7 separate regions of the Homo sapiens genome follow, and regions 1, 2, 3, 4, 5 and 6 are each linked to region 7. Evidence: promoter capture Hi-C in 16 types of primary human blood cells and fetal thymus (Javierre and others, 2016). All regions are on one chromosome and are shown on one strand. The core of a region is centred on a gene start or on the middle of the fragment in contact, and the rest is flanking DNA. Distances in the headings are between cores, read along the strand shown.

Evidence for each region. The method cuts DNA at HindIII sites, captures the fragments that hold promoters and counts their contacts. A CHiCAGO score of 5 or more calls a contact.
Region 1: a contact is called between a fragment that was not itself captured here and the fragment with the promoter of OR10X1 in region 7, in 5 of 17 cell types (erythroblasts, M2 macrophages, fetal thymus and 2 more). The highest score is 7.2, in erythroblasts.
Region 2: a contact is called between a fragment that was not itself captured here and the fragment with the promoter of OR10X1 in region 7, in 1 of 17 cell types (erythroblasts). The highest score is 6.1, in erythroblasts.
Region 3: a fragment that was not itself captured here is called in contact with the fragment with the promoter of OR10X1 in region 7 in 5 of 17 cell types (erythroblasts, M2 macrophages, M1 macrophages and 2 more); the score reaches 10.1 in erythroblasts.
Region 4: a contact is called between a fragment that was not itself captured here and the fragment with the promoter of OR10X1 in region 7, in 1 of 17 cell types (erythroblasts). The highest score is 5.1, in erythroblasts.
Region 5: a contact is called between a fragment that was not itself captured here and the fragment with the promoter of OR10X1 in region 7, in 3 of 17 cell types (megakaryocytes, erythroblasts and activated CD4 T cells). The highest score is 7.6, in megakaryocytes.
Region 6: a fragment that was not itself captured here is called in contact with the fragment with the promoter of OR10X1 in region 7 in 1 of 17 cell types (erythroblasts); the score reaches 9.5 in erythroblasts.

The regions. Positions count from the first base shown.
Region 1 is chr1:158,960,769-158,964,509 of GRCh38, reverse strand. The region is part of intron 7 of PYHIN1 (pyrin and HIN domain family member 1); the gene reads right to left. Among named protein-coding and RNA genes, the nearest start is that of PYHIN1, 31 kb to the right of the region's middle. The HindIII fragment of the contact is 4,341 bases long and covers 84-3,741 here.
Region 2 is chr1:159,028,701-159,032,870 of GRCh38, reverse strand. IFI16 (interferon gamma inducible protein 16) reads right to left here. Exons shown (of 12, transcript NM_001376587.1): 7 at 180-347. Among named protein-coding and RNA genes, the nearest start is that of IFI16, 21 kb to the right of the region's middle. The HindIII fragment of the contact is 1,575 bases long and covers 2,047-3,621 here.
Region 3 is chr1:158,982,809-158,986,517 of GRCh38, reverse strand. It overlaps a transcript of PYHIN1 not described here. Among named protein-coding and RNA genes, the nearest start is that of PYDC5, 18 kb to the left of the region's middle. The HindIII fragment of the contact is 1,925 bases long and covers 1,108-3,032 here.
Region 4 is chr1:159,090,329-159,094,442 of GRCh38, reverse strand. It overlaps a transcript of AIM2 not described here. Among named protein-coding and RNA genes, the nearest start is that of AIM2, 16 kb to the right of the region's middle. The HindIII fragment of the contact is 1,199 bases long and covers 1,964-3,162 here.
Region 5 is chr1:159,068,205-159,072,354 of GRCh38, reverse strand. It overlaps AIM2 (absent in melanoma 2), which reads left to right. Exons shown (of 6, transcript NM_004833.3): 3 at 3,654-3,787. Among named protein-coding and RNA genes, the nearest start is that of AIM2, 6.5 kb to the left of the region's middle. RefSeq lists an enhancer at 4,040-4,150. The HindIII fragment of the contact is 683 bases long and covers 1,378-2,060 here.
Region 6 is chr1:159,009,017-159,012,793 of GRCh38, reverse strand. IFI16 (interferon gamma inducible protein 16) reads right to left here and starts at 2,887. Exons shown (of 12, transcript NM_001376587.1): 1 at 2,633-2,887. LOC124904432 (a long non-coding RNA gene) reads left to right here. Exons shown (of 2, transcript XR_007066671.1): 2 at 1-287. RefSeq lists a silencer at 69-178 and an enhancer at 2,951-3,030. The HindIII fragment of the contact is 5,786 bases long and covers 1-3,777 here.
Region 7 is chr1:158,577,962-158,582,217 of GRCh38, reverse strand. It overlaps OR10X1 (olfactory receptor family 10 subfamily X member 1), which reads left to right and starts at 2,319. Exons shown (of 1, transcript NM_001004477.1): 1 at 2,319-3,299. The coding sequence starts at 2,319. The coding sequence ends at 3,299. The HindIII fragment of the contact is 11,722 bases long and covers 167-4,256 here.

The sequences.
Region 1 (3,741 bases), core at 1,005-3,504, 380 kb before region 7:
TTGTAGGTGACCTTCCCAGTGACCTGCCCCTTCTCTCTAGCTGTCTTTAACATTTTTAAATTCATTTCGACCTTGGAAAAGCTTATGATTATGTGTCTTGGGGATGGTCTTTTTGTGTAGTATCTCACAGGATTTCTCTATGTACCCTGAATTTGAAAGTTTGCCTCTCTAACAAGGTTGGGGAATTTTTCATGGATGATATCCTGAAATATGTTTTAAAGGTGTTTGCTTTCTCCTTGTCTCTCTCAGGGACACCAATGAGTTCTAGACTTTGTCTCTTTACATAATCCCATTTTTCTCAGAAGATTTTTCATTCTTTTTAATTCCTTTTTCTCTATTTCATTTCTGATTGAGCTATTTCTTTGAGCCCTGAGGTTTTTTCCTCAGGTTATTTCATTCTGCTCTTAATACATGCAATTGCATTATGAAATTCTTGTAATGTATTTTTCAGCTTTATCAGATCAGTTTGGTTCTTTTTTATGATGGCCATTTTTTCTATCAGCTCCTGTATCATTTTATTGAAACCCTTAGATTTCTTGAGCTGAGTTTTAACTTTCTCTTGAATGTCAATTATCTTAATTCCTACCCATATTCTGAATTCTATTTCTGTCATTTCAGCCATTTCAGCCTGGTTAAGAACCCTTGCTGGGGAACTAGTGCAATCTTTTGGAGGAAACAAGACACTCTGGCTTTCTGAATTGCCAGAGTTCTTGCACTGTTTCTTTTGAGTAGTTAGAAACCTTCTTTCCTGGATGTTGTTAGAGAGCTGAGGCTTTGTGCAGGGTTTTAATTTCTAGCTAAATTCTTGTCCATGGTTACACAGGGGTCTATATTAGCAAAATATTTTTGGTGTTGAAGTTTTGGGCTGTGATCCAGTAGGTGGTGCTTAAGTGTATTGGCCAGTAGGTAGGCTCTTGCTCTGCCATATGCAGGGCATGCTCCCTCTCAGTGCTCTGAAAGTGTGGGCTCCTTTCCCACTTGAGTACTGGCTCCAGATCTTGGCTTGGCACACTGCAGCTCTGGGATGAGCTCAGATTTTATGTTCCCTCGCCAGCTTGAAGGCTGCAGCAGAAGAAACCTTAGCAGTGGTTATGGCAGAGGGCCTTTCACTTGACTCTTGGTGGTCCACCCCAGAGAAACGAGGAGCTGCTATCAGCCAGTGCAATTGGCCAAAGATGGGGCAGCTGTGCTGTGGGCCCAAGCCAGAGGGTCCCGGTTTGGTGAAGAGCAGGGCTACGGGTGGGTCACAAGAGAGATAGACTGAGTTCTTCTCCTTAGGGCAACTGCAGTTCCTTCCCCAGTCTGAAGGCAGCAGGGCAGTACCACTGCAGCAGCAGTGGCAGAGGGGCTTTTGGTTGCCTCTGGGAGCTGCACCTCAGAGAGATGCAGAGCCGCTGCTACTGGGAATGTTCAGCTAGAGAATGGGAAGTTACATTGCTGGCCACAACTAGGGGCTCAGCTCGTTGAGGAGTGGGGCACTGAGGATTCATAGGGAGGAGGGACTGTGCTTTGCTGCCTGTATGGTGACTGTGGTGTGCTGGAAGCGCAGGTGAAACTCTCGGGGTCTTTGTTTCTTCCTTGAACTAAGGGGATCAGGGGCAGAACCACTGCTGTGGCCGTTGCAGTGGGGCTGTCAGTTGCCTCTGGGACCCCCTCCCCAGGGAAACACAGAGTTACTAGCAGACCGTATGCTTAGCCATGGGTGGGGCAGCTGTTTTGCAGTTCAAAGCCAGGAGCCCTGTCTGATGAAGAGTAGGGCTGGGAGCTCATAGGGAAGAGAGACTGGACTCCTCTCCAATGCTCGCTGCTGTGTGCTGGAGGTGCCAGTGTAGTGACCAGGCCCTTTGTTTCTTTCCCAGCTCGAGAGCAGTTAGGGCAGTGCCACTGCAGCTGCAATGGTGGAGGAGTTGTGGGTTGTCTCTGAGATTTTCTCCTGAGACAAATGCAAAGCTGCTTTCCACTGAAGTGTTCAGGAGGGGGCAGGGTAATTGTGTTCGAGTCCTAGGCCTGAAGGCCCCACCCAGTGAGGAGAAATGTGAACAGGGACCCACGGATACAACGGTCCGATCACTTCTCCGTGGGGTGGCTCCAGTGTGTTGGGGATCCGCCCATCACTAATCACTGCCCATCCTTCAGAACCTGAAGGCAACTGGTGCAAGGGCTGCAAGACAGAAAAAATGGCAGCCTACCTTTCCCTCTAGGAGCTCCATCCCAGGGAAGTATAGAGATGCTATAGTCACCAAAGCCCAGGTAGGGAGTAACTGGAGTCTGAAGTCAGGAGGTCCTGCCCAGTGAGGAGAACTGGCATCGGGAATCCACGTATAAAACAGTCTGGCCACTTTTTCATGAGGCATCTGTGCTGTGCTGGGGATCCAGCCAGTCCCTAATCACCACACACTCTCCAGGGCCTGAAGGCAGCCGTGACAATGGCTGTGAAACAGCAAAAATGGTGGGCTTCCTCTCCCTCTGGGGGCTCCAACCCAGGGAAGTGCAGAGCTGCTACCGGCCCATGAGCTCAGGCAGGGGGGTGGCTGGAGTACTAGGCTAGTGGACTTTATCCTGTGAGGTGCAGTGGAGGCGAGGCTTAGAGTCCAGTGCTGCTTAGTCCCCTGGATTCAGCTCCTTTTCTGAAGGCCTGTGAGGCAGCCTGACCTCCCCTATTGCCAGAGCTGCAGCCGCTAATTCCAGGATACTTGGATCCAAGGCTCCAAGGGTTCCTTGTATGCCTGAGTGGTGGCTCTGCCCAGGCTCCACTTAGCTTTCCCTCTCAATCTGAAGGCTCCAGTGGGGTGGTCTCATAGGGGTATCTCCTGAGCCCAGGGTGGCAAAGGTCCGTGGCAGAAGTATGGGTCCCCAGAGACTCTCACTCACTCACCATTTCCCTGCAGTGGAGAAGCCTCCTCTGGCTCCGTGCCATTCCCAGGTGAGCAATTGTCTTGTCTCACTCTTCTCTATTCTCCATGGGTAAAGTTGTTTTCTCGGTGGATCTCAATGGTCCACCTGGATGTTCCAGTTGAAGATCTAGCATTTACTTGCTACTCTCTTCTCTCTACAAGAGTGGTACACACTACCTGTTTCTAGCTAGTCATCTTGGCCCTCAAAAGCAGTATCTTAAATGAAGATTTAACCTCTCATTTCCTCAGTATTTAGAAATATGAAATGTGACTAATAATGACATCATCAAGTTAGTGTAAGGAAGAACAAATAAGAAAAGATACATAAAGTACATATAATTTACATTTAGCACACTCACTATCTTTGTGAACTTGGGGAATATTTTTAAATCCTATGTATTTCAGTTTTCTCTTATGTATAAGGCTGTGAGTAGCATTCTCATGACTGTGTTATGAAAAAGAGATGTGATAATATACATATACATATAGAATGCAGGTTTTAAAAACCAGTACCCTGTAAATACTCAGAAAGTAGAATATCATTTATGATTGGTATCATACTCATTCTGCAGGGATTTGGATGTCTACTCTGATCACTTATGTCTCATACTCCCTGTTTACCTTTCTCATGGAAACCCTAGATCAAATTGGTATAGAAAGTATTTTATTAAAGAAACTTCTTTATTCATATCTACCACTTATTGACAAAAACATCTTGAGTTACTATCTTCTCAAAAACAGCCAAATAAAACAGTCCATCACAATGGTGGAATTTAGATGAGAAAATATATACTCTGGTTGACTAGTATTTTAAATTATTAAAAAAATTTTCTCAGAGTAATTCTTT
Region 2 (4,170 bases), core at 1,585-4,084, 450 kb before region 7:
AGATTATGATGTGGTGCTATCTCACTGTATGAATTCAATAAATGATTGAGTGACATAATTTCATACCAAGATTGTACCAATCCATTCACAGAGATTACAGCAGTAGCTCTTTCAACAGTCTAATGATCCCTGTAAATTATGGTGGGGAGACATGAGGCATGGGACCCAGGAAATTGTACCTTGGTGAAGAAACTGCTGGATGGAGTTGTTGGTGGCATCTGAGGAGTCCGAAGATGGCTCTCAGGGAAGGTTGTGCTGGCCTCTGAAGGATATGGAAGCTGACGCTGTTCCTGGGGTAGCTTCATGCTCTTGGGGTCATTGTTTCTCGGGTTTGTTTTTTTCTTTATCTGAAAGTATTCATTTTCTGTTTAATGGTTTTCAATATTAGAGGAAGCACAACATCTTTTCATTTGTGAGAATATCATCCTTTATTAGATTTTAATAGGTCTCATTACTTCCAAACATGGTCTCTCTCTAATGTATCCCTCCAGGCAATTGTCAGAATATTTTTTTTGCTAAAATGTGGAATGATCAAGTACTCTTCTTCCTAAAATCTTTCAATATCTACTTACTGATGTTTTTACATTGGAGACTCCATTTCTGTCTTTATGACAAAAGCCAGCTTGTTGGAGGGCTGCTTTTTACCTGTCTTGCATCATTTTCCTATACCTTTCTACATATACCAATTTATACAGAACTCACTATGCTGTTTCACATTTTAACATTTGCATGTGACATTTTCTCTCCCTAGAAATCTTTCCAGTGTTTGTCTTTATCTTGCTAAGAGCAATAGGACCTATTGCACATTGATTTCCCATAATGTACAAGGCAATGGAATAAGAAATATTTTTCCATTATCTCATTTAATTTTTAAACCAATCTTATGAGAAATATTTAAAAGCTATTTTTCCCAATATCAGGAAACTAATGTGCCAGATGTAGAACAAGTCTTTCCTATTCCAAAGTCCTTGCTTTTGGCCACTGCATTATATTGGTTCCCCACCCTCCTAATTTCTTCAAATATTTTATTATTTACCACGAGTTTTATATCCTTTTGAAGCCTATGAGGAACATCATTCTCCTAATATATCTTAATAGGCTTTTCCATTTAAATGTGAGTGGAATATTCAAAATGGCACGTTTGAAAAAAAGCGGACTGCTGCTGCAGGCTCCAGGAGACAGCAGAAAAACTGTGAGTGCCCAAAGTGTGAAAGTGTGAAAGGGGATCATCCACCCATGAACATACATCCTCACTGGGGAACCTGAAGGTCTGGATCACAAGTGAAGGATTTGACCTTACCTGGAGCTAAGGTGAATTTAGAGAGCTGAGCGAAATACAGGGGTAGAGGAAGCAGCGGGAAGAGCCCTATGGGCTCTCTCAGTCCCCAGGGAAGCCATTACTGACTTTGTCTCACAAAGGTCCTTCAGGAGGGCTGCCAGTAGAATTGGGGAAATACCACAGGGAGAAGAAAACTTCCAGCTGAAGTTTCGACCGAACACAAAATTTCCTGGACAGAACCCAGGGGTGGGGGTGATCTGGGAGTGCAGACACCAGCACAGAAGCCACAGCAGGCAGGGAGGCTTGAACTCTGAAAACCCTGCTTGCTTTCTCAGCAGGGAGGCTGGTAGCAAGTTCTCAGCTCTGCTCACTTGCTGCCTGGAAATAAACTCAGCGTTGTTGGTGGGTGATGGTGGGAGTGAGACTGGCCTTTCAGGCTGTGTGGGAACTGGATGAGGCCTGTAACTACCAGCTTTCCCCAACTTGCCTGGCAACTTGCATGACACAGCAGAGGCAGCCATAATTCCCTTGGGAATATACCTCCATTGGCCTGAGAATCACACCCCATCCCCCACAGCAGCATCAGCTTTCCCTGTCCAAGGGGAATCTGAGCTCAGACACACCTAACCCTGCCCCCACCTGATGGTCTTTCTCTACCTGCCCTGGTAGCCAGAAGACAAAGGACATAATCTCTTGGGAGCTCTGTGGCCCCCCCACCCACCACCTGAGAAACTCAAATCCTATTTCAAGTGACCCTAGGGCAAGCTTGTATCCTCCCTATACTATTGCAGCTGATGCTCTCTTAAAAGCTCCACCTCCTGGCTGGAGGACAACCAACACAAAATTATCCCAATAAACAAAATTAAAACCAAGGACCCTCATGGAGTTCACTTCACTGCCCTGCCACCTCCACAGGAGCAGGTACTGATATCCATGGATGAGACCTGAAGACGAACCACATCACAGGACTCTTTGCAGACACTACCCAGTACCAGCCTGGAGCCTGGAGCACAGTAGCTCTGCTGGGTGTTGACAATCACTGTAGTTCAGCTCTCAGGAAGCCCCATCCTTTGGAGAAGGGGGAGAGCACCACATCAAGGGAGCACCCTGTGGGACAAAAAAAATCCTAACAGCAGCCCTTGAGTCCCAGATGTTTCCTCTGATATAGTGTACCCAAATGAGAAGGAAGAAGAAAAACAATCCTGGTAATATGTCAAAACAAGGTTCTTTAACAGCCCCAAAAGATCACACTACCTTACCAGCAGTGGATCCAACCCAAGAAGAAATCTCTGAATTGCCAGAAAAGAATTCAGAAGGTGGATTATTAAACTACCCAAGGAGGCACCAGAGAAGGATGAATACCAACTTAAAGAAATTTAAAAAATGTTACAGGATATGGATGGAAAAATCTCCAAAAAAATAGAGAGCATAAAAAAAAATCACAACTTCTGGAAATGAAGAACACACTTGGAGAAATGCAAAACACACTGGAAAGTCTTAGCAATAGAATCAAACAAGTAGAAGAAAGAACTTCAGAGCTTGAAGACAAGGCTTGTGAATTAACTCAATCTGACAAAGATGAAGAAAAATGAATTAAAAATGAACAAAGCTGCCGGGCATGGTGGCTCATGCCTGTAATCCCAGCACTTTGGGAGGCTGAGGCAGGTGGATCGCCTGAGGTCAGGAGTATGAGACCAGCCTGGCCAACATAGTGAAACCCTGGCTCTACTAAAAATACAAAAAATTAGCTGGGCGTGGTGGCAGGCACCTGTAATCCCAGCTACTTGGGAGGCTAAGCCAGGAGAATTGCTTGAACCTGGGAGGTGGAGGTTGCAGTGTTCCGAGATCGCCCCATTGCACTCCAGCCTGGGCAACAAGAGCTAAAGTGTGTCTCAAAAAAAAAAAAAAAAAACTGAACAAAGCCTCCAAGAAGTTTGGGATTATGTTAAACAACCAAACCTAAGAATAACTGGTGTTCCCGAGGAAGAAGACAAATCTAAAGGTTTGAAAAACATATTTGAGGGATTAATTGAGGAAAACTTCCCTGGCTTTCCTAGAGATCTAGACATCCAAATACGAGAAGCTCAAAGAACACCCGGGGAACACCCTGGAGAAAGATCATCGCCTAGGCACATAGTCACCAGGCTCTCTAAAGTCAAGACGGAGAAAAGAATTTTAAGAGCTGTGAAGCAAAGTATCAGGTAATTTATAAAGGAACCTATCAGATTAAAAGCAGATTTCTCAACAGAAATCCTACAAGCTAGAAAGGTTTGGAGTACTATCTTTAGCCTCCTTAAACAAAACAATTATCAGCCGAGAATGTGTATCCAGTGAACTAAGCTTCATAAATGAAAGATCAAGTCTCTTTCAGACAAACAAATGCTGAGAGAGTTAGCCACTACCAAGCCAGCATTACAAGAACTGCTAAAAAGAGCTCTAAATCTTGAAATGAATCCTCGAAATACACCAAAATAGAACATAAAACATTTAAAGCATAAATCTCATAGGACTTATAAAACAATAACACAGTAATAAAAAAGTAAGGTATTTAGGCAGCAAATGGCATGATGAATAAAATAGGACCTCACATCTCAATACTAACATTGAATATAAATGGCCAAAATGCTCCACTTAAAGCATACAGAACAGCAAAATGAATAAGAATTCACCAACCAAGTGTTTACTGTCTTTAAGAGACTCACCTAACACATAAGGCCTCACATAAACATAAGGTTTCATATAAACATAAGGTAAAGGGGTAGAAAAAGATATACTATGCAAATGGACACCAAAAAACAAACTTTAAAGCAACAGCAGTTAAAAAAGACAAAAAGGGACATTACATAATGCTAAAAGAACTAGTCCAATAGGAAAATGTCACAATCCTAACA
Region 3 (3,709 bases), core at 821-3,320, 400 kb before region 7:
AGATGGTTTAGACAGTAGACTGAGAACACCTCAGCCCCTTCAGTGCAGCAGGTCCTTTACCTCAAGTGGTCAGAAAAAAAGGTGTTGGCCTAGTTTCAGACCCCTAGGGGTAGAGCACACAGCCTAACAGTGCTGAGCTGATCCTTGGACCCATGAAATTATCCAGAAACAAAGCCGATCAACTAAACCCAACTTATAGCACAGCTAGACACTCAAGGACATCAAAGAATATAAAATAAAAGAGCCCCATCCAAAGAACAGCAACTGCAAAGACTAGCAAAATATTAGCCCACACAGATGGGAAAGAACCAGTGCAAGAACTCTGGCACTGTAGAAACCAGAGTGTCTTACCTCCAAACTACCATGCTACCTACCCAGCAAAGTCTAGATGGCAATGAAGATTCTTGAAATATAGGAGAAAGCAGAAACCCAATCAAAGGAATCTAAGAAATCCAATAAAATAATACAAAAGCTTAAAGATAAAATAGCCATTTTAAGAAAGAACCAAACTAACCTACTAGAGCTGAAAACTCACTACAAAAATTTCATAATATAATTGGAAGTACTAACAGCAGAAGCTGAGGAAAGCTGAGGAAAGAAATCTCAGAGCTTGAAGATCAGTTCTTCAAATCAACTCAGTCAGATAAAAATAAAGGAAAAAATAATAAAATATGAACGAAACTTCAAGAAATATGAGTTTATGTAAAGAGACCAAACCTACAACTGATTTGCATCACAGAAAGAGAGGGAGAGAGACCAAGCAACTTGGAGAACATATTTGAAGATATTGTCCCTGAAAATTTACCTGACCTTGCTAGAGAGGTTGACATGTAAATTCAGGAAATTCAGAGTACCCCAGCAAGATATTACACAAGATGACAATCCCTAAGACACATAGTTATCCAATTCTCCAAGATCAAGGTAAATAAAACATATGAAAGGCAGCAAAAGAGAAGAGGCAGATCATGTACAAAGGGAACCCTTATCACACTAACAGTGGACCTTTCAGCAGAAATTTTTCAAGCCAGAAAAGATTAAAGGCCTACATTCAGCATTCTTAAACAAAAGAAATTCTAACCATGATTTCATATCCAGCCGAACCAAGCTTTGTAAGTGAAAAAGAAACATAATCCTTTTCAGACAAACAAACACTAAGCGAATTTGTTACCATTAGGCCTGCCTTATAAGAGGTCCTTCAGGGAGTGCTGAACATGGAAACAAAAGGCTGCTACCTGCCACAAAACAACACACTTAAGTAAATATTCCACTGACACAATATGCAACTATACAATCAAGTCTACATAACAACCAGCTAATAACACTATGACAGGATCAAATCCTTACATATCAATATTAACCTTGAACATAAGCAGGCTAACCACTCCACTTAAAAGGCACAGAATGGTAAGTTGGATAAAGAAGCAAGACTCAATTACATGCTGTCTTCAAGAGACCCACCTTACATGTAAAGACACAGGCTTAAATTAAATGGATGGAGGAATATCTATAAAGCAAATGGAAAACAAACAAAATAGAGCAGGGGTTGCTCTTTTATTTCAGGAAAAAAAAAACAGACCTTAAACCAAAAGCTATCAAAGAGGATGAAGAAGGGCATCACATAATGATAAAAAGTTCAATTCTACAAACAAGACTTAACTATCCTAAAGATGTGTGCATTCAGCACTGGCACAACCAGATTCATAAAACAAGTTCTTAGAGACCTATGAAGAGAACTAGCTAACCTCACAATAATAGTGGGAGAATACAACACCCTACTAACATTGTTAGATAAATCATTGAGGGAGAAAACTAACAAAGATATTCAGGAACAAAATTTCACACTTGACTAAATTGACCTAACAGACATATAAGGAACATTCCACTCAACAACAGAATATACATTCTTCTCATCTGCACATGGCACATACTCTGTGCCACATGCTTGGCCACATGCTTGGCCATAAAGCAATGCTCAGGAAATTCAAAAAACAGAAATTATATCAACCACACTCTCAGATCACAGTGCAACAAAAATACAAATCAATACCAAGAAGATCTCTGAAAATCATAGAAGTATTTGGAAATTAAACAACTTACTCCTGAATGACTTTTGGGTAATAAATTAAATTAATGCAGAAATCAAGAAATCTTTGAAACTAATGAAAACAAAAATACAATATATCAGAGTCTCTGGGACACAGCTAAAGCAGTGTTAAGAGAAAAGTTTATAGCACTAAAGGCCTACATCAAAAAGTCAGAAATATCTTAAATTTATACCTAACATCACATTTACAGGAACTAGAAAAAACAAAAGGAAACCAACCCCCAAACTAGCAGAAGAAAAATAATAATCAAAATCTAAGTTGAACCAAATAAAATTGAGATGTGAAAATTCACAAAAATAATTAAGAAAACTAAAAATTGGTTTTTTGAAAGAATAAGATATATAGACCACTAGCCAGATTAATATACAAAAAAAAAAAAAAAAACAGGAGAAGATCCAAATAAATACAATTAGAAATGACAAAGGGGACATTACCATGGAACCCACAGAAATACAAAAACTCTCAAAGACCATTATGAACAATTTCTATGCTGAAAAACTAGAAAATCTAGAAGAAACAGATAAATTCCTGAAAACATACAACCTGCCAAGATTGAACCAGGAAGACATTGAATACCTAAACAGATCAATAACAAGTTCTGAAATTGAATCCATAATAAAATACCTACAAACCAACAAAAGCCATGGATCAGACAGATTCACATCTGAATTCTACCTGATAGATAAGGAGGAGCTGATACCAATCCTACCAAAATTATTCCAAAATATTGAGGAGCGGAGACTCTGCCCTGAATCATTCTATGAGGTCAGCATTATTCTGATACCAAAACCTGACAGAAACACAAAGGAAAAACAAATTCAGGACAATATGCCTGATAAATATTGATGCAAAAGTCCTCAAAAAAAAATACTAGCAAACTAAATCCAGCAGCACAGCAAAAGCTAAGCCACCATGATCAAGTAAGCTTTACCCCTGGAATGCAAAGTTGGTTCAACATACGCAAATTGGTAAATGTGATTTATCACATAAACAGAACTAAAAACAAAAATCACGTGATTATCTAAATAGATGCAGAAAAGGTTTCAATAAATTCAACATTCTTTCATGTTAAAAACCCTCAACAAACTAGGTATCAAAGGAACATACCTCAAAATGAGACATCTATGACAAAACCACAGCCAACATCATATCACAAATAGGCAAAAGCTGAAATCATACCTCTTGAGAACCAGAACAAGACAAAGTTGCCTACTCTCACTACTCCTGGTTCAACATAGCACTGGAAGTTCTAGCCAGAGCAGTCAGGCAAGAGAAAAAAAAATAAAAGACGTCCAAATAGAAAGAAAGGAAGTCAAACTACCTCCTTTTGCAGGTAATATGATTCTATACCCAGAAAACCCCATAGCCTTTGCCCCAAATTTCCCAGAAATTATAAACAACTTCAGCAAAGTCTCAGGATACAAAATCAATGTACAAAAATTAGTAGCATTTCTATACAACTAATAATACCCAAGCTGAAAGCCAAACCAAGAACATAGTTCCTTTCACAATAGCCACACAAAGAATAAACACATAGGAATACAGCTAACCTGGGAGGTAAAAGATTTCTACAACAAGAGTTACAAAATGCTGCTAAAAGAAAT
Region 4 (4,114 bases), core at 1,314-3,813, 510 kb before region 7:
TTACAGGCATGAGCCACTGCACCTGGCCTTGATTTCTTAAAATTGTTGAATACTGCATACAGAATACTTTTAAGCACATGTTTAAGATGTAAAAGTACACCAGCTCAATGAATAGCTATGTACCTACCACCCAATTTATGAAATATTAGTATTAGGTTGGTGCACAAGTAGCTGTGGCATTTGCCATTACTTTTAAATGGGAAAAACTGCAATTACATTTGCACCAACCTAATAGAGTGTTATCATTATTTCTGAAGTTCCCGTCTGTCCTCTGGTTCTAGCCACTTTCCAGTTCCCTGAAGTTACGACTAAATTTTGTGTCTTATTATCTCTCTGCTTTTCATTTAAGTTTTATAACAATGAACAATATATTAAGTTTTTACAAATTTTTATAATTTAAATATGCCATGTGCAGTGACTCACGCCTGTAATCCCAGCACTTTAGGAGGCCGAGGCAGGTGGATCATGAGGTCAGGAGATCGAGACCATCCTGGCCAATATGGTGAAACCCCATCTCTACTAAAATACAAAAAAAAAAAAATATCCAGGCATGGTGGTAGGCGCCTGTGATCCCAGCTACTCGGGAGGCTGAGGCAGGGGAATCACTTGAACCTGGGAGGTGGAGGTTGCAGTGAGCCGAGATTGTGCCACTGCACTCCAGCCTGGTGACAGAACAAGACTCCGTCTCTCTCTCTCTCTCTCTCTCTCTGTATATATATATACACATACATATATATGTATATATATATTTTCTAAATAAATAAAATGTTATATACATTCCTCTGTAACTTGCTGATCTTCATTATGTCATAACTGCAGTTCATTTTCACAGCTGTAATGTATTCCAGCACATGAGTATCCATGAATATGCCACAATTTATTTGTCCCTTTGACAGGTTTCCCCGTTTTTTGGCTTTAACAGTGCTGCTAAAAGTCTTGCTGGGACTGGGAGTGCTGTGTCATAAGATGTATGTGTCTTCAAAATTAATAGATAATACAGCATTATGTTCCAAACAAGTTGTATCTCCCTATGCTACCAGCAGTGAATAAGATTTGTTAATCTGTAAGAAATATTAAATCCAATTTTTCTCCCAGAATTCAGTGTGTTCTGGCTACGTCACTGCACTGACCCTCAGGAAATTTAGATGCCTTTTAATATTGTATAGCTGAGAAGGGGAATTGAAGTATCATGCTAGATCTTGTAGAATTATATATATGCTGTCATTAGTACTTCTTTTCCATTAGTGTCATGAAGTTGCGTGTGTTTGTGTATTTGTATGGGTTAATGTGCTTTCAGTATTTTATTTATGCGAAATCAGAATGGTATGGGGTTAAGATTTCAGCCTCTGGAAGTAAAAGTTCTGGGATCAAATTATTTATTTATTTATTTATTTATTTATTTTTATTTATTTATTTTGAGACGGAGCGTCACTCTGTCACCGAGGCTGGAGTGTAGTGGCGCGATCTTGGCTCACTGCAACCTCCGCCTCCTGGGTTCAAGCAATTTTCCTGCCTCAGCCTCCCAAGTAGCTGGGATTACAGGTGCCCACCACCATACTCAGCTAATTTTTTTGTATTTTTAATGGAGATGGGGTTTCACCATGTTGACAAGGGTGGTTTCGAACTCCTGACCTCAATTGATCCGCCCACCTAGGCCTCCCAAAGTTCTAGGATTACAGGCGTGAGCCAGTGTGTCCAGCCCCTGGGATCAAATTTTGACTCCTCTACTTACACCTTTGTAACCTCAGGCAAGTAACCTATCCTCTTTCCTCTGCATCTTGGTTTCTCTGTCTGAACGTAGGTACAATTGTTCCTATTCCCAGAGTTGTGGCTGGGCCTAGAGAATACTTAGGACATGAGGATTCACCTCCTTCTCCACTTCCTGACATGATGTTGCCTATGCTTCCCCACCTCTCCCACCTTACCCTTCACCGTGTTCTTCCTTGTCCTCAGAAAATAAGCTTTAACCTCCTTCAGTCTGATAATGTGGGCCTGGGTCCAGAAGAGGGGCCAGTCTCTAATCTGTGTAATTGCGGAGTATGTTTTTGGAGTTTAACTTATTCATAGTTAGGGCTAAAATTGTTATCTGCTATTACAAACTCCTGCTGCATATATATATTTATAACATTTAGGCCATCTTCTACATATTATGTAGTAACTTAATTGTTTTCAGCTTATGCAACATGGTGAATCATTTCCTGAGTCACTTTGGTGGTTAGTCTCTTAGTTTTGCATGTTCAGATAATATTTTCATGTTTTACTGCTAAAATTGTGAATAGTCATTTATTTAAATGAGTTTATATATTTGTTTCCTACAGCAAATATCAGGAATTAGAATTGTTAGGTTATAATTGCCCTCTTTTTTCAATAATTTTTAATTCATGATAAGATGACTCACCTAAGGATTTCACTTAATTGTTTTTTTCCTTAATTTGAACATTAGAAATAGGACTATGTTTAGGGTGTGTGTGCCCTTGGGCAATCACCCTCTGTTTCCTGTGGCCCTGCTACATTGCTAACTTCAGTGGATACCATTTACTTTCTGTTTTGTGTATCCTTGAGGCCCCTTTCATGCTAGAATATTTTTATAGGTGACAGCAGTTTAAGCATCCACATTCTAAGCAGGCCCTTTTCAATAGAGAGGGACGAAGCCACCATTTTTGCTTTGGCAATTGCTGGTGTGTCAGTGAACACACACACACTCATAACATTTGTTACCACATCCTTTATACATCACCCCCTAAGTTACTCTCCAAATACCTTCCCCCAAGGGCATCCAGAGGGCAGGACTTCAGCTGGCTGCCTTGATTCATCCCATCCTACAGATTGCTGTCAACACAAGAGATGATCAGGATAATGTAACGATTGCACTTTGTAAGTATATAATTTTGTTCATTGTCACCAGTTACATGCTGGCCATCCTCAAGCATATAAGATAGTCTTGTAACTTGTGAATCTTCAGAAATCAGAGGAGTTTCTCCTCCTCTTCACTGCTGACAGTAGTCAAAAGGGACCCAGCCTAGAATAAGTAAAGGGAAAGGCAGAACCTGCCAAAGCACGTCGTGACAAGCATGTCATTGTGGACTGACTCTACCCAGCATTTTTTCAGTGGTTGTAATGCCACACATGGCTTTAAGGTATTAATAGGATTGGACACAAGCTTTTCTGTCTTCTACACTTATAAGACCAAGAATGGCTAAATATAAAAAATGTAACCTTTATCCTATCATTCTCTTTTCTAGCTGTATTATTTGTTACTTTATTAAGTAATGTTTAAAGTTATTTGTATTAATTATTTTTACCATTCTCAGGACCATACAAGCCAATTTCTACAAGACTAGCATTAGGATTGAGGTTTCTCATTTAATGGTGATTCATCTTTCCCACATACAGCCTGCCCCTTCATTCTGATGTTTCCATTTCAGCAAGAGACTGAAAGGGAAAGGAGGTCAATAGGAAGTTACTCAGGAAGAAGAATACCAGGAGGGAGTGATGGTGCTGAACACAAGGGAGCCATTTGAGGTGGAATCTTTGAAACTCAGACACTTTATGCTAATGTGGTAGAGGTTGCTTAGGGAAAGTCTTTAGCATCAATGTAAAAGACAATTTTAACTCAAAGAACGATCAAAAATTATTTCCCTGATGGTTTGCTAGAGTCAAAACATGCCTTACACATGTTTGATGCTGACTCTGACAGAGGGATCTGTGTCTCCAGTTACCATGTCAGGAGACTAGACAAACAGCTCATGGTAAAAAATAAAAGACAAATGAATAACCTCCCAAACACAACCTTGTAGGAAAAATAGTAAGAGTTTTCACCTTAAGGTAAAGTTTTGGACTTGGTCTGAAGTGTCCATAGAAGGCATTTAAATAAACATTTTTATTTAGAGATAGAAACAAAAACAAAAATTGAAAGGCATGGAATTTTAGTGGCGTGATGACAATTACAATGACAAAATTATGAAATGTGAAGCAGTCACACGCTTTCTAGCAGTATGCGAGAGAGACTGATTCATGGACTTTAAATTCATGTATTATTTTTACATTCTGGTATATTTTTGCACTTTATAGTCACATCTTTTTCTGGTGTATGTATCTTTACACTGCATTCCTG
Region 5 (4,150 bases), core at 470-2,969, 490 kb before region 7:
GGCTTCTCACACATGAGTTATAGGAAGGCTAAATGAAGCCACATAAGTGATACTATGTACATTCATAATTCTATACAGATATAAACTGTTAGGTAGTTTCTAAGGCACTAAAGAGAAAGGAGTGGTGGTTTTCCCAGGCTTTAAGTTAGAAGGTGTAGTTCTTAGAGATGGCCCTTAGATGGCAGTAACTACACATGTTACTTCCAAGTAACCAACCAAAACATTGCCCTGTGTTTTTCTTATCTGGGATGAGCCAGGAATCTAGGCATATTGGCAAACATAGGCTGAGATATTTAGAAATATCTTTTATTTTGGTAATAAATCAAGAATTAATTCTTCTCTTTGACCAGGATAGAACAAAATTTCCCCTTCTACAATCTTCTCCCCATTTTGCTATTCTAATGATTCTGGGATTTTGTTATTCTGCTTAGCTAAAAAAGATCCAGTTTGGGACTAGCTTGGAAACTCAGGAGTAGATTATCCAAGGACTCTCCCAAATGAGAGTCTCCAAATGTAACAGTTGTAGGATTCAAAGTATGCTTTTGGGCCAGGCGCAGTGGCTCACGCCTTTAATCCCAGCACTTTGGGAGGCCAAGGCGGGTGGATCACTTGAGTTCAGGAGTTCGAGATCAGCCTGGCCAACATAGTGAAACTTTGTCTCTACTAAAAATACAAAAATTAGCCAGGCATGGTGGCGGGCATCTGTAATGCCAGCTACTTGGGAGGCTGAGGCACGAGAATCACTTGAACCTGGGAGGGAGAGGTTGCAGTGAGCTGAGATCACACCTCTGCACTCCTGCCTGGGCAACAACAGTGAGACCCTGTCTCAAACAACAACAACAACAAAACACAAAGTATGCTTCTTGCATGCTATACAAGAAGGCAGTTAAGTTCCTTCATAGCTCTAAAATTCTATCCACGGACATACTTAGGCCGCTTTTGAATGTAGGAAATTTTTGTGTGTCCATGCTATTTCTATTATTTTAGGAAAACAGTTTTTGTTTTATTTTTTGAACAGTTAATCTGTCATTCTTGGTTAAGTGATCCTTCTCCATTGCCATTGCATGTCTGCATGTAGAGTGCTATATGCTATTCTACTCATGACCTCACCTCATGGAAGGTAGAAGATACCTGGAGAATCTTTAATGAAGACAGAGGCAATAATTAGTAGACAGGAGAAGCTTTTGTATGAAGCAAGATGAGAAAATATAAGGACACATAAGCGTAGAAAAAGGAAGCTAAGAGAAAATGTGATCAAAGTCCACAAAAGTCCTGCAAGATTAAAATAAAATGCTGAAAATGATAAATGAAATAATCAGTAACAATGTGCACCTGATTATTAAGGCAAATGAGAGATTTATAATTGGCAGACAAGCTTGTCCACAAATATTGCATTGGTACCACAGTGTGTGAAATGAAATATGGCTGATGTGATGTGGTAGAATGGTAGGTTGATTCCTTCCGCCTCCCTTGATGCTGTTTTCTCTCCGATGCTGTGAACATAGAAGAGAGACTTTATCTGCATACCTTTCTGAAACCAATTTCATGGAACTAACTTACCATTGGAAGGTTAGTTTAACTTCTTCCTAGTGCAGAGATCCTGCTACAATATCCCTGTCAGACAGTCAACCACTTTCTGATCTTTGAAAGGTAATGACAGAGTACCTACTACCTCATAAGACAGTTCATTCTACTCTTAGCTCTAATAATTAAATCGTTTCTCTTTTTAGTAAAATCAGTGATTGCCTTGCTATTTCAGTCCAGAATTGTTCAAATTCTATCAGAAATAACATCTAATAATTTCCCAGGCCCTCTTCTGCCTGAGAGTGCCTTAAGTCATCAAACATGGCCATCTTGTTACATGGTCTTTTTAAAAATCAGGAGTAGGAGTTGGCTTTTCACGATAACATATAACCTGACCATAGACGTGGAGGAGCCCAGCCAGAGTATACGACTGCATTTTGTAGGCATTAGTGAGGAGCCAACATGCCACCCATCCATCCATTTCTTCATCCATTCAGTAAATATCCATTGAATTGCTAATAGGTACAAGGAAAGCTTTTAGGTTCTTATGATAAAACAAGGTTTTAAAAACAAATCCAAATTTTGTACAGTTTATACTCTAAAGGGAAAGTAGATATTTTTCTTACAGGCAAATTAACTGAGACAGGTAACTAACTGAGACAAATGTTCTGATGGAAAGGAAGATGGTTCTTCAGCAGCATGTGTCAAAGGAGCATTAACATAAGCCAGGAGTTAGAGTTGGTGTTGGTCAAAGCGGGTTCCATGGGGAAGTGACTTGCACTAAGCTGTGAAAAATGCATAGGAGTTAAAGGTACCTTCAGTCAGAGGGAACACTGTGTGAAAATCCCTCTGACAGCAGGTGTTGACTTGCTTGAGGACTGAAAGAAGGCCAGTATGGCTGCAGTACAGAGAATCTTCAGAGGGCAGGATGGGGTCCCCTCGACAGAAGGAAAATGCAAGGCCTTGTAGAACATAATTAGAAATCTGTGGCCAGGCGCGGTGGCTCACGCCTGTAATCCCAACACTTTGGGAGGCTGAGGTGGGCGCATCACGAGGTGAGGAGCTCAAGACCAGCCTTAACAACATGGTGAAACCCCATCTTTACTAAAAAAATACAAAAATTAGTCAGGCGTGGTGGCATGAGCCTGTAATCCCAGCTACTCAGGAGGCTGAGGCAGGAGAATCACTTGAACCCAGGAGGCAGAGGTTGCAGTGAGCCAAGATTGCGCCACTGCACTCCAGCTTGGGTGACGGAGTGAGACTCCGTCTCAAAAAAAAAAAAAAGAAAGAAATCAGCCCTTGTTTCATAGCAGCAGTTTATTCATTTTCACTACTACATAAGATTCCATTTAATTGATAATTACATATACACATAAACTGATATACATATATATAGAGAGAGAGAATTGGTGTATTTTTATTGTTATTTTAGTCATTGGAGGCCATTATGAATAATGCTGCTATGAATATTTATGTACATTATAAGCCTTATATACTTATCTTTGTATGTTTGTATTTGTATGTGTGTTTCTCTTGACTGTACACCTGTGAATGGTATTACTGGATGTTAAGGTAAGTAGATATTGAATTTTAATAAATAGCGTCCCAAACCATTTTCCAAAGTGTTATACCAATTTAAGACGACTACTACTTCATAGTTTTTGTTTCTTGTCTTTTTTTTTTTTTTGAGACAGACAGGGTCTCACTGTGTCATCCAAGCTGGAGTGCAGTGGTGCAATCATGACTCACTGCAGCTTTGAACTCCTGGGCTTAAGTTATCCTTGCCTCAGCCTCCCAAGTAGCTGGGACTAAAAACATGTGCCATTATACCTGGCTAATTTTGAAAATATTTTTTGTAAAGATAGGGTCTCCCTATGTTGACTAAGCTGGTCTCAAACCCCTGGCCTCAAGTGATCCTCCAGCCTTGGCCTCCCAAAGTGCTGGGATTACTGGTGTCTGTGCCAGGTCCAGTTTCTTTCATTTTAAAATATGATTTTTTTTTAAGAAAAATTAGCTGTTCTTGAAGATATCTTAATATGGTTTTAGTATTTATTCCTGGTGACATTTGAAAATGTGCACTGCTCATATGTTTATATGCTTATTGGCCATGTCTTTCATTTTTTAATCAGTTGATAAGCAATACAAATCGGTAACAAAACCAAAGCCACTAAGTCAAGCTGAAATGAGTCCTGCTGCATCTGCAGCCATCAGAAATGATGTCGCAAAGCAACGTGCTGCACCAAAAGTCTCTCCTCATGTTAAGGTAGGATAAGGAGAGTGGAGTGGTCTTTGTCCTTGTAAGAGCATCACTGTCACTGTCACTTCCCATATTGTTCTCTGTTCTTTATCTCACAGCATGCAAATAAGGGAAGCAAGGCCACAGCATGAAAAGCATTCTGAGTCACAAAAACAGGAACTACCTTTGATTCATCAGATTAAACACCTGTTGAGCTTCTAATCTCTGCCAGGTTCTGGACACATTAACACTTTGTTATGTTTTGGATTCTATAAGAAGAAAACTCTGAGATAGACCGTTGTTTACAGGAAGTCTATTTTAGAGCACTTTCAGAATTAATATCTGTGAGGAAGTGAAAGGAGAAGAAGAGGAAGAATGTCAAGTCCAATG
Region 6 (3,777 bases), core at 1,278-3,777, 430 kb before region 7:
CCTTCCTTCCTTTGCCGCCCCAGACATGCCTTCCCGCCTAATTGGTACAGGACAGTGTCTTCCTTCCCGCCTAATTACCCCTATAGAATTTAAAGCAGTAGCCAATCCGGTCAGCTTAGAATGTGCATTGTGACTGACGCAGGCAGCACCCTTCTGTAGAAGCAAATATGCTTTGCTGAGAAATTTCCTGTTTAAGTGCTGGTTTTTCTTTGTGGCACTGAGCACTTGTTTCCAACAAGTGTGACAGCACAATTTATTTGCAAAATAAAACCAGATTTGGGATGACAGTAGGCTATGTATAATCTTTATTTCACTGAAATGTGAACACTCACATGTTTTGTTTTGCAATATTAGTGCTTTTGATTTTGGAGTAATTATTTATATCCCAATGGAGTTTCTAGTAAGACACTATTTAGAATATATACACTAAATAGCCTTTCTGAAGCCTCCAGATTCTTAACTTCAAAATGTATCTAGCTCCACAGCACAGAAGAGGTGCTTTCATCTTGTCTTAAGGGAAAATATAATTTTACATTTTAGAGTTTTAATTTAGGCAAAATGATATTTAAATAGAAGAGTCTCAAAAACTATTTTGTGATACTCAGGGCCTCAGTCTTTTTGCAAGACAAAGACTCATACCACAAGAAAACATCTATTGAAAATAATATTTAATAGGAAAACATGAATAAAATTAAAAATTCTGCCAGCCAAAAGATAAGAAGAGTGAAAAATAAACTTTTTTAGGTGTTCCTAATGTCTTACAAAGAAAACCCTGATCAAATATAAGAGAAACAGAAATTACAACAGCATGGTAAAGGGAGGGAAGAAAAAGAACATGACAATTCACTAAAGCAATTGTCTTAGATAGTGAGATGATATAGAAGTGTCATAAATTGAAGTAAAGACAGCAGATTGTTAATTACCAGCATATACCTAAAAGGTCTGACCTGTTAAGTGACAACTTTCATCAAATTTGATTTAAGAAATCTACATATATATTGTTAACAAAAGGTGAAAAAAATTGTTAAAAATTATCTTGCAAGGAATAACTAAAGAAAGCCAGTTTATCTATGTTTGTGTAATTTTAAATATACCTTAAGCCCAAAAGTAACTTCAGATACCACATGATAAAAGTTTCAACTCCTAGAAAATTATGTTTTAGTTATGAATTTATCTAATTTATCTAATGATATTATTTATTATTTTATAGTGCTTCATGGTACTATAATTAGTATATATTTCTCTTCATATACACACATGTACAGACATCACTACACACATATATGTGTGTACCTGTTTGTATACATGATTATATATACATATATTTGTGTGTGAATGTATATTATATATACACATAACATGTATGTGATTGTGAGAGCACTACAAAGAAAAAAAATTTTTTTTTTTTTTTGAGACAGAGCCTTGCTCTGTCACCCAGGCTGGAGTGTAGTGGCACAGTCTCGGCTCACTGCAACCTCTGCCTCCTGGTTCAAGCGATTCTCCTGCCTCAGTCTCCTGAGTAGCTGGGATTACAGGCACACATGACCATACCCGGCTAATTATTGTATTTTTAATAGAGACAGGGTTTCGCCATGCTGGCCAGGCTGGTCTGGAACTCCTGACGTCAAGTGATCCGCTCGCCTTGGTCTCCCCCAAAGTACTGGGATTACAGGCATGAACCTCTGTGCCCGGCCAAAAAAGCAAACTTTATAATAGGAGATTTCAGTTTATGCTTCAATTACTAAATGAACAAGGTGAAAAAATCTGTAATGATATAATAAATTTGAACAACGTAATTAACAACATTTATCTAATAAAATTCTGAAAACAACATTTAAGAATCTCACATTCCATTTAAGCACACATGAAATATTGTACCAGGCTATAGAAAACATCTTTTAAAAATTTGAAAAGTAAACAATAGTAACCTTTTCCTAACTGCCTTCCCCTCCACTCCCCTATACCTTGCCACAAGGAAAAAAAAAATCATTAACTTTCAGGAGGGCAGAGAGTAATTCCAAAATGATTGAAATTCTGCCGCTAGCACCCGGTGCAGAATGGAGCTAAAGTAAAGGATCAATATACTTATGAAAATATTAAGACACCATGTGCTTGAGTAACTGTGTTTGTGAAACTGAAAAAAATTTTCTACTCTGTGTACATTTGTTCTTATGTTTTGTAAAATTGGGATGATGTCATATAATACATCTCTATGCTCAGATATGTTTTTTACTTAATATTCTTTCATGATACTTTTTTCATGTCACTATCTTGAGAACCCACCACAGCTACCGAGTTTCCAACACTTCTTCCAGCCAAAATAACAGAAGCCCTCTTCTAAGTACCAACTTATGCCAGTATACACTCGGATAATTAATTTTAAAATCTGCAACGGTCAAAATGCATTTTCTCTTGTTCAGTCCTCAGTTGTGGTGGAATAGAAGATGCCTGTTATCTTCCTAAGTAAATGAAGGATTCATATCAAGCAACTCAGTTTTCACTTTTCTGAATACTCAGCCCTACTCCCATCATCCCATGACCCTGAATAACCAATACTGATTGTCCCCTTGTGATTCTGGGGACTTCAAGGAAGGAACAAGATCATATTTACAAAATCAGGAACAGTACTCACCTCACTGGAAATTTTTTCAACAGTAGTCCAGATCTTGAGATCTTCAGAAATGCAGGAATCAATGCTTATTTGTGTGAGGGGGGAGATAAATCAGTAAAGTTCCCAGAAACGGAACCGCAGGATGTTGTAATCTCCAGAAACGCTAAGAAAATGAAGTATCTGCAAAGATAACAAGGAAAAAAGGCCTTGGTTGAGTCACTTAGTTAGCTGACTAGTGCTGGCTTGCTCCTATTCTGCTATTGCCCCAGAGAAAATGGAGTAGGAAACAATGTGGAGACTCCTCCCACCAGTGTTTTTAGCTTTCGTTTCTGTTAGTCAGAGAAAATGAACAGTTTCCTGGCAAGGGCTGGAGCATGTGGTGAGGGGAAATGGGGGATGAGAAATTACTTTAATGGGTACAGTTAACATTTTTCGGGTGATGTGCACACTGAAATCTCTGACTTCACCAATATGGCATATATCCATGTAACGAAATTACACTTGTATCTCATAAATGTATATAAACACAAATAAGTTTTTTTTCTTACAAAATTCGATAGCTGAAAGGAGTTCCAACATTAGAACTTTCTTACCCAGCAGACTTACATGTGAGTCATTAGAGACTTATATTCCCTTAAATGATGCTCAAATATAAGAGAAGCAACATGGCTTCTTCTCCCCTCCTTTCCTGTGCACAGAGTGGCAGTGGCAGGAGGAGATCTTGGTAGGAGCATCTATTGCTACCAATACTTTACTGCATCTCCTGGTTGGGGAAATGTCTGCTATGAAATCGCTATTTGTTTAAATACTACCTGAAGTATTCATCCAATTATTAATAACTGACAAGCCTGGGCTTTCCAGATCAGAAAGTCATTATGAATATGTAAATCCTTCCTTAAATTTATATGAAGGAGTTTAACACTAGCTGTCCTCTTGACCATGACTAGGTTACTTTACCTCAATGATTAGATTCACGAATGCTCAGATTTTCTGCATTATTCCTGGATAAACAAACGTGGATAGTGGACTCTCAACATGACAGCATCGAAGACTTGAAAATCCTGGAAAATGCACTGAACTTCCGGTAGTGTGAGGAGTCTGTTTAATCCTCTGCTCAGCAGTGTATTTTTCTCTGTTAAGGACAGTGGGTGCCCTTTAGCGTGCTG
Region 7 (4,256 bases), core at 1,070-3,569:
CATTTTCAAAAAGCTTATGAATTTAATGGTGACTTTAAAAACAGCACCTCCTCCAACCCCCTCGCTGCCCCCTAGTCCCTGCCTCAAATCCCAGGGCTGTGTTGGAAGAGGTAGAACACGTGTAAAATCAGACTGTTTTTTTTCTGGTAGTATGTTAGAAAAAGCTTGGGTTTTGTACCAAGGCCATCAAGTACTAAAATAACTTATTGTTTTGCTAATCTATTTCATATTTACCCTTTGCTATATTTAATCCTTTAGTTGTAGAATCCACATAATTTCCTTTCTTACAGAGTTACTGTGAAGGGTCAAGAGTGCTTGGGAGCATTGGTGTATGAAGTGCTCTACTGATAGGAGGAATTTTTTGCAGTGGCTTAGGAATAAGCAGAAGGAACCTATTGAAGCCTAATACTTCTGGAAGGAAAAAGATGCCTCTGAACAGTTGAAATGTAGCAGAAAGCTGATCATAGAGAAAAGTGGAACAATCATCTGCAAGTAGATTTGGAAACCAAAGATACTCGTACTGAATGTGGTTACTAAAGAGGCTCACACCAAAAGGCCTCAAGAGGAAGCCCCGGGTTATAATAGACATGGTCCTCTATAATATTCCCTTAGGTAAGAGAACAGAAAAATGGTCTTCTTATTGGGAAATGACTGCTCACTAAGAAGAGTAGATACAGTAAGTGAAAGGGAAACAGAATGGAGAAAGAGTTGATAGGAGATAAGAAAAGATTAAGTCATGTGATTCATGTATGACTGTCAGAGAGTAAGAAACTTGTAAGGTCTAAGAAGACAAAGAACCAAAGGGACCTTTAAAGTAGAGTCCAAAGGGTTGTGGATTATTTTAGGAACCACTTATAATTCAGACCTTTTTTCTACTGTGTCTTCTGACTGTCAGTGATAAGTTAGACTCTGCCATGAGAATGCTTAATCTTAGCCTAAACAAAACCTAATTAGAGTGGAAAGTCTGTTAACCTCCATGCTCAAAAATCAAATGCTATACAGTGCTGAATAACAAAGGAAAACAAAAATCATTTATATACTAAGCACTTTTTTGATGATTAACTCATCCATCTAACATTCACCAGGAATTATTACCTTCTTAAAGTGCTCCATATTATTACTCTGAAAAATACAAAAATATAAGACTTATGGTCTCTTTCTTGAAGCACTAAGCATTGATAAATGAAAAGAGTATACAATTCAAGTCAAATCTCTTTGCTTCTAGTCACAAATATGCCACTTCCAAGACATAATTTTATTTCTAAAATAAGTAATCACACTTGTCCTACCCATTTCGCAACCGTCCCATTCACTTTATATTTATGCTGTGAAGAGTAAAATCAATAAACATTTGAAATAATTTGGAAAAATATAAACCCCACAAATGCTAGTTATTAAATATGTTGACATATGGGGCAGGGAAAACAGTAGCTCAATATACTACAGGGCTGAAACAATGTGTTAAATATAGGGACTAACAACATGCTATAGAAATCAGAGGACTATGAGATTAAATCAGATGTAGCATTATTGAAAAATTTATACAATTATTAAATGCCACTTATTTTCTTTGAATGCTGAGCTGGGAATTAACAAAATAGACACAATCTCAATTGCCACCTGCACTATGCTTGTATAGTCTGCTTATCAAAACCATCCACAGATTTAATTAATTACTATTAATCCTAAGAGTCCTAGGCTACCCTATCTTTCTTCTTTCCCTCTTCTCAGAGCAGAAATAATGACACATGTTTTTTTAACTTTCTTTTAAAATTCTAGGACCTAAATATATTCTCCAAGAAGGGTTAATGACTTTGGGCTTCTCCAACAATTGCAAGTGATTGTCCAAGTTTTGTCCTAAAATTACTTGGAAATCAATTCTTGATATTTACGCAGTAAATATTTATAGACCATACATTGTGTGGAAGTTTCTGTGTTGGACCCTGACTCTATTAGCCACTTAAAAGTTTTCTCTGTGTTCAGAAGCTCATCCAAATAAAGCTCACCTAATGCATCTGAACCTCCTTTATCTGAGCATCAACTGGAGTGTTTCCTCCCATATTATACCACATGCTCATAAAATCCTTTTAAAAATAGGCCAGAGCAAGCCTTCTTGTCATATACATAGTGATGTCATATACTAAGTCATCACTAATTAGCTGCTGAATAAAGGAAAAAATGAATGGATGAAAAATGAGAAAAACACATTACCTACATATACATAGTTTTGCTAAACTACAAGAAAAAGCAGTTGGTAATTGTAATTCTGATGATTTATCTTAGTCATCACAATTTTCCTTTGATGGTATCAAAAGATAATGGTGTTGAATGTTTATTGTTGTTTCTTTCAAATTTCAGACATTCAAACGATGAAGATCAACCAGACAATCCTGAAGGAATTCATTCTTGTTGGCTTTTCTGTGTACCCACATGTACAGACATTTCTTTTTGTGGTCTTCTTTTGTCTCTACCTTCTCACCCTTGCAGGTAATCTGATCATCATGGGTCTAACTTGGGTGGACAGGTCCCTCCACACCCCTATGTATCTCTTCCTTAGTGCACTCTCCTTCTCTGAGACCTGCTATACGCTGACCATCGTCCCCAAGATGCTGGAAGATCTACTGGCCAAGGACAGAAGCATTTCAGTCACAGGTTGTAGCTTACAGATGTGCTTCTTCTTGGGACTTGGTGGCACAAACTGTATCATTCTCACTTTGATGGGATATGACCGCTTCCTGGCCATCTGTAACCCTCTAAGATATCCACTGCTTATGACCAACATTGTATGTGGACAACTTGTGGCCTCTGCTTGCACTGCAGGCTTCTTTATCTCTCTTACAGAGACTGCACTGATATTCAGGGACTCTTTCTGCAGACCCAACCTTGTCAAACACTTCTTCTGCCATATGCTGGCAGTTATTAGGCTGTCTTGTATAGACAGTAACCACACAGAATTCATTATAACACTGATCTCAGTGTCTGGTTTGCTGGGTACCCTTCTGCTCATCATCCTGACTGATGTCTTCATTATTTCTACTGTCCTCAGGATCCCTTCAGCTGAGGGCAAGCAGAAGGCCTTCACCACCTGTGCCTCCCACCTCACCGTGGTTATAATCCACTTTGGTTTTGCATCTATTGTTTATTTGAAGCCAGAAGCCTCAGGAGATGACACACTCATAGCAGTCCCTTATACTGTCATTACCCCCTTCCTCAGCCCCATCATATTCAGCCTGAGGAATAAGGACATGAAAAATGCTTTTAGAAGAATGATGGGAAACACAGTTGCCTTGAAAAAATAATCTTGGGTTGTTGCTGCTTGTTTGAAGAAGGGCTCAATGTCCCCAGAATTCAATAGGGGCATTTATCCTGTGACCCCTGGAGAAACTTGTACCATTTGCCTTGTTCCAGAGGTTGGGATGTAAGAAGCAAGTGACACAGACTGGGAACTAAGTAGCCACAGGCATCTACTTAGCTTGTTAGAGAAGCTGTCCAACCCTTCTACTATCCAGTATCAGAAGAAGAATGTCCCTGCAGATAAAAGATTCTGATAATCAACTTCCGGGTGTCCTGCAGTATTCATGAATTGAGTAAAAAGTGTGGAAGGAAAAAACAGCATATAAATCCACTGCACTGAGTGATGTTTTAAATATCTAAAGATGTCAACCATGGCTCAGGCTTGTAATCCCAGCACTTTGGGAGGCCGAGGTGGGCAGATCACTTGAGGCCAGGGGTTTGAGACCGGCCTGGCCAACATGGTAAAACCCCATCTCTACTAAAAATACAAAAATTAGCTGGGCATGGTGGTGGGTGCCTGTAATCCCAGCTACTCGGGAGGCTGAGGCAGGAGAATAGCTTGAACCCAGGAGGCAGAGTGAGCAGAGACCATGCCATTGCACTCCAGCCCAGGTGACAAGAGCAAAACTCCATCTCAAATAATAATAATAATAATAATAATAATAATAATAATAATAATAGACGTAAAAGTTAAGGATTTTTTTTAGGCAAATGTTATGAAGCACTGAAATGCACCTCCCATGAGACAAATCATTTCTGATAAGAGATGTAAGAGTATTGATGTAATTTTGAGTTCTGTTACTTATGGGAATGTTATGAAATAAATGAAATAGTGGATAAATTTATTATGCACATTAACTGATTAAGTTTACCCCTGACCATGACACTCTTTCTTTGGGATTATTTTCATGATACAGGTGCAGACAAAAATCTCTGCTACCTTCAATCTGCAGCCATTCCTT